2 separate regions of the Homo sapiens genome follow, and region 2 is linked to region 1. Evidence: promoter capture Hi-C in human tissues and cell types (Jung and others, 2019). All regions are on one chromosome and are shown on one strand. Each heading gives the region's core, a stretch centred on a gene start or on the middle of the fragment in contact. The rest is flanking DNA. Distances are from core to core; before and after follow the strand shown.

The links. The method cuts DNA at HindIII sites, captures the fragments that hold promoters and counts their contacts. A contact is called where the count stands out against the background at its distance.
Region 2: a fragment that was not itself captured here is called in contact with the fragment with the promoter of LAX1 in region 1 in 1 of the 25 tissues and cell types used here (psoas muscle).

The regions. Positions count from the first base shown.
Region 1 is chr1:203,763,860-203,766,690 of GRCh38, reverse strand. It overlaps LAX1 (lymphocyte transmembrane adaptor 1), which reads right to left and starts at 1,508. Exons shown (of 5, transcript NM_017773.4): 1 at 1,037-1,508. The coding sequence starts at 1,125. RefSeq lists an enhancer at 1,266-1,625. The HindIII fragment of the contact is 24,847 bases long and covers 1-2,831 here.
Region 2 is chr1:203,797,845-203,800,562 of GRCh38, reverse strand. It overlaps ZBED6 (zinc finger BED-type containing 6), which reads right to left. Exons shown (of 17, transcript NM_001395895.1): 1 at 1-2,718. The coding sequence ends at 101. All of the region lies in intron 1 of ZC3H11A (zinc finger CCCH-type containing 11A), which reads right to left. Among named protein-coding and RNA genes, the nearest start is that of ZC3H11A, 3.6 kb to the right of the region's middle. The HindIII fragment of the contact is 3,631 bases long and covers 1-2,718 here.

The DNA.
Region 1 (2,831 bases), core at 259-2,758:
TATTTCAAAACAACAGGCTATCATGATAAATATATATAATTTTGATTTGCCAATTAGAAATAAATAAAAATAAATGAAGAAATAGTTTTGGAGAGATGCTTCAGGCTTCTGATTCATTGCTCATTGATGCTCATATCTACCAGCAAGTGACATGTGTTTGCCATGATAATAACATTTATTTCCCCAAACGACTGCAATTTTATTTTATTTTTTGAGACAGAGTTTCGCTTTTGTTGCCCAGGCTGGAGTACAATGACATGACACTGCAACCTCTGTTTCCCGGGTTCAAGTGATTCTCCTGCCTCAGCCTCCTGAGTAGCTGGGACTACAGGAGCATGCTACCACTCCCGGCTAATTTTTGTATTTTTAGTAGAAACGGGGTTTCACCATGTTGGCCAGGCTGGTCTTGGCCAGGCTGGTTCAAGAGTGGGGGTGATCCGCCCCACTCGGCCTCCCAAAGTGCTGGGGTTACAGGTGTGAGCCACCGCGCCCAGTCAGCTGCCAATGTTTTTAAAGTTTCAACTGTGGATGGATTTTTAATTTTGTTTGTATGAGATTGAAAGTAGTAGCAGTAATTCATACCCATGATTAGTTCTGTAAGATTTTACGTCCTAAGGACGTATCTTTATTACATCTATCACTACATTTTTTATTCATGACAAGTTTTTGGATCTCAAAACACATCCTTGGAAAACTCAGCCTTTTGTTTCTGTCATGGTGACACCTAGGAAAGACTGATGATAGGGTTCAGGGCCTCCGAGAGGTGAGAAATCCAACCAGTCTAAGCAACTAGCTTTAAGGGCCAGTGTTATCACAGTTTTTCCTCTACCACAATATTTTCTTTCTTTCCTCAATACCTTCCTTTCCCCCTAGCACCCCTGAGCAAATGCCTCCAAGCCTAGAGTTTGGTGGTTTAGTAGACCGAGCCTGGGTGTTGAGAGGTGGCAGCACTGCTGTGTAAGAAGCTCCTAAGGGTGGACTAGGACCTTCTGCCTAAATCAGGGCAGGGTGGAGCTCACCACCCTGAGTCACTCACCTGTCCAGGCTGCGGGGAGTCACATGCAGAGTGCTGGACTCCAAGGTCCTCCCTCTGATTGTCGAAAGGGTTGGAGTGACACCATCCATTGTATCAGGAACCTTTGAGATGCTCTCTGGCTTCAGCTTCTAAGTTTCTCTTAATCATAATCAGTTAGCCAGCATGTCTACCACTTCTCCCCACCCCCGCAACAAACTCCCTATCTCGTGTCTACCTCTGAAACGTCAGGCCAAGTTGACCCAACATACAAAAGCAACAGGTTTGGTTCTACCTGGACGTGGCTAATGCCCACTGCAGGAAGTGCGATCTCATCCGGACATGGTGCTTCCAAGTGAGGTGGCTCAGGGAGAATCTGTGGCCTCTGCCTTCACGTTTCTGGTGGAAACGTGAGGGGCACAGAGGGGGAAACTGCCAAGAGGCTCAAGAGAGGCTCCGTGAGAAGCTCGTCTTCCTTCAACACCCAAAGCAGAGTGAAAAGAGCAAACCACTTTGCCAGAATGGAAACAGAGAGTCAGTCACCGGAAACGACACCACCAATGTGCTAATGAAGCACAGGGCACAGGAAACTCTGCTCAGCTCTTAATCTGCTAGAAGAAAACATATCTTCAACCCACCGTTCCTGGGTTTGCCAGGTGCTCTGTGGTCTGTGATGAGTGTGATTAAAAATGGGGCAGGGTAGTAGAGAACTTGTGATTCTTCACCCTGAGTTTCTGAGACACTTAGAGTTGTATAAGTCTTCAGATTTACAGTATTTTCTAAGCAAGTCTAAGGAGCACTGGAGGTTGCCTTTTAGAGTGAAATGCAGATCTCCGGGACCCTCTTCTGATTCAGTGGGTGGAGGCTGCAGAGGGGGCAGGCTTTGGCTATCGATGCTTTCCAGGTGAATTTGATGGAGCTTTCAGGTGATTTTGATGGAGCTCATCTGTGTTTCATGTTTTGGGAACCTCTGCTCTGGGTACTACCTTAAGAATAGAAGTTATGCTGGGTTAGCAGGACCCCTGCTCCCCCAAGGCAACCTTCCACAGCTCCTGGCTGCTGGTGATCTCCTGTTCTCAGGGCTCTTCTGAAGATCAGTCACAGTCTTACTTGTCACACACCTGTCTCAGAAGCTGAACAAGTTCATCCTTAAGAGCTACCCAAAGTGTTTGAAGATTGTTCAAAATTTATTGCTAACTCCCCTCCCTTCTTGAGCCTACTAATCTCCGGAAACACTCTTTGCATCTTGGGAGAGTCCAAAGAGAAGGGGCCACTAAGACTGTTGTAAGGATGTGAAGAACCTCTCTGATTGCACTTTCCACAAGGAAATGGATTCCCAGATGAATGGAAGGGCAGACCAGCAGTACCCTCCTAGAACCATGCCTCCCTCCCATCTCTTCCCAGTGGACATTGAGGTCCTCAGCTTTCCTGAGGTGGCAGCCCCTGGCCTGTCTGCATCCAGACTCTCACAGAGTCCCCAGGGGCTGCAGACTGGCCATGGCTGGCTTTCCAGGGAGCTTTATCATTCCAGGTCCTGGGCCCCTTCCCTCCCAGGAGCTTCACCTGGTAGGAAGCAGAAATGGCTCAGAGGCAGCTGGTGCTGGAGCTGGAACCTGGGTCTCTGCCCACTTCTCCTTTGGATCAGGTCTGAGTAGGAACTAGGACTACTCACAAGATCCATCATGCTGGTGGCAAGGACTGGGGTCCTGGGCCATTGGAACCAATAAGGGACTGTGAGAATCAGGACCTCGGAAGGCAGTACACGGAAAGGGCACATGGAACCAAACCTCAGAACCATGACTGCTAATTAAAAAAAAAA
Region 2 (2,718 bases), core at 52-2,551, 34 kb before region 1:
CAGATGTGTTTATAAAGATAATGATTATATTTAACAACTACAGCTATTAAGATACAGTAACACAGCAAAAAGTTGCCCATTTTAAATGGAGAAAAAGAAATTAAGGCAGTATTTCTTTTTCACTGCTTTGAACAACTTCATTCTGCTCAGGATCCCAGCTCAGAACCAACGTAGAATAATCGTAGTTAACATTTTTCAAGTTCATTTTCAGAAACATCAGTTGTTCTATATTGTCAAAGTCCAGGCTCATGATCTGTTTTGGATGAAAGTGGCTATTTTTAGTAAAGATACATTCAGATTGCCAACTACACATGGGGCAACTTAGATACTGGATGGCAACCTGGGTCAAAGCCGGCCATATGCTTATCTTCCTCTGCCAGTAAATTAAAGGGTCATCACCTCCTGAGAACTCTGAATACTTCTCTTTGAAGTACTCATCCACAACTGCTACAGCAGAAGGGAACATGAAGCTTTTGCTTCCAAGGGCAACATTGTCTACAGCTGAGCTATCAACAGAACCTGAACTGGAGGTGCCTTCTTTTAGAGATGAGGTAAATGAATCAGCTCCCACTGTAACTGAGGGACAAGAAGCTTCTGAAGTTGGAATTTGGCAGATCTCTGGTGAAGATTCCATATAATTACAGACCTCTTCTGCAAGGAACTGCTTATAAGTTTCTAAATCAGCACCTTGAGGAAAAAAGTCTTCCAAACTGTTTTTAAAGCAAGGATCTAACAAAGTAGCCAAGATACAGGGCTTGGATTTAAGCATGGCACTTAGTAGGGTATCTGTTTCAAGTTTCAGAGATAAACTATCCACCAGATTGAGGGCCTGAGTAATACCTCTGACTTGAAAATCTTCTCTGAGTTTCTGCAGGGAAAGGAGTAGATGATGGATTAGGGGTAGCACCTGATTCAATCCTGCGGTCTTCACGCTCACTTTCTGGGTAGCCTCCTCAAATGGCTTAAGAATATCACAAACATAAGTCATTAGAGTCCACTGAAGGGAGGTGAGCACAACTCCACTGGCTCTACCAAGACTATGGTGAACTGAGTAGCAATGCTCCAAGAGCCATTTTAACATATAAAAAGTAGAAATCCAATGGCCAGTTTCGTCCTGCTTCAAATTCTTCCATGGAAGTTGGTGATCATTTTGGAACTCTTGCAGTATCTGACGGGCCTTGACCGAATGACTAAAATGATGACAAGTTTTCCTGGCAGCCACTAACATATTCTCAATGCTTTTGTGCTCGCAGAAAAAGTCCTGAATGACCATATTTAAACAATGCAGGAAGCATGGCACATGGGTAAAACCACCATCTTTGATTGCATGTACCACATTAGAGGAATTGTCAGAAACAATGAAGCTAGGGATAAGGAAATTTGGAGAAAGCCACAGACCAATCTGGTCATTTAATTCTTGTAAAATATTGGTTATCAAACAGTCTTTAGCCAAACCTGTAACACAAAGCACTGCCCACTTTCTAAAATCGGGGATCCTGCCATTATTGAGAAAAGACGCAGTTTCCAAAGAAACCCAGTGTACAGTCACAATAAAATAGTCAGTGGATGGGTCATGGGTCCATATGTCAACAGTCAGGTGTATCTTTTGGCTTTGAACATTCTCTAAAGTTAAGAAAATTTTTTCTCTGACACAATCATATAACTGAGGTACAGCCTTAGTGAAAAAGTAAGTCTCTGATGGCAACCTATAATCAGGGGCCACAATCTGCATGAACCTCTGAAAGGCTGGGGTTGAGAAATAGTTGTAAGGATGCATATCCTCCACAATCATTTGGATAATTGCCTGACTTATGTGACTTGAGACTGGATTTCCACAACATGTTGTTTCTCTCTCCTGCGCACGCATCAGAGTGCCTTGCTCTGCAACGGGAATAGGACTTTCAGATCTGTTTTCAACCTCTAACATAGGTTCATCTGAATCAGAGTCACTAAGGTCCTCAGCTGTTAAATCTTGGCTGCCTGTAGACTTTTCTCCATGCAAGGTATCACTCAAGAGATCACTTCTCTCAGTCTCAGCTTCATCTAATCCATTTGCAACAGCACCACTGTCTTTGTTGGCAACAGCCCAATGGATAGGATGTGTGGCTTGCAGGTGTCGTTGAAGTGTTGAAGTCCCTAAGTGGGACCCTGGCCTACCCCGGCTCACACTTCTTTTACATATATTACACACAGCTCTTGAGATGTGCTGAGGATCAGTGTAAAAAAAATTCCAAACGGCAGATGTCTTGGCTCTAGTTCCAGGAATTAAAGCATGCTTGACAATGTTACTTTTGATGAGAAATCTCCCTCTTTCTGCCCTTAGGGCATCAGATGCTGATTTATCATGCTTCTTGCCCATTCTATTATCATCTAATGGATCAGTAGGAATATATTCAAAGCTTCCATTGCTTCCAGAAGAGGGAGATAAAGACACATCCAAGGTAAAGTCCTCCTCTCCACTAGCAACTCCAAACTTGTTGGCCCTGGTCCAATGAGGTGAATGCCTTGCTTGCAGATGTCGTTGAAGAGTAGATGTACCAAGATGGCTACCTGGTTTACCCCTGCTGACGCTTTTCTCACAGAGGTTACAAATGGCCCGCCAGGTGTACTGGGGGTCAACATGAAAGAAGTGCCACACAATGGAGGTCTTGGCTCTAGTACTAGGTAGATAGATCTGTTTTTCTATATTGCTCTCAAAAAGACTTTCTTCATCCTGCT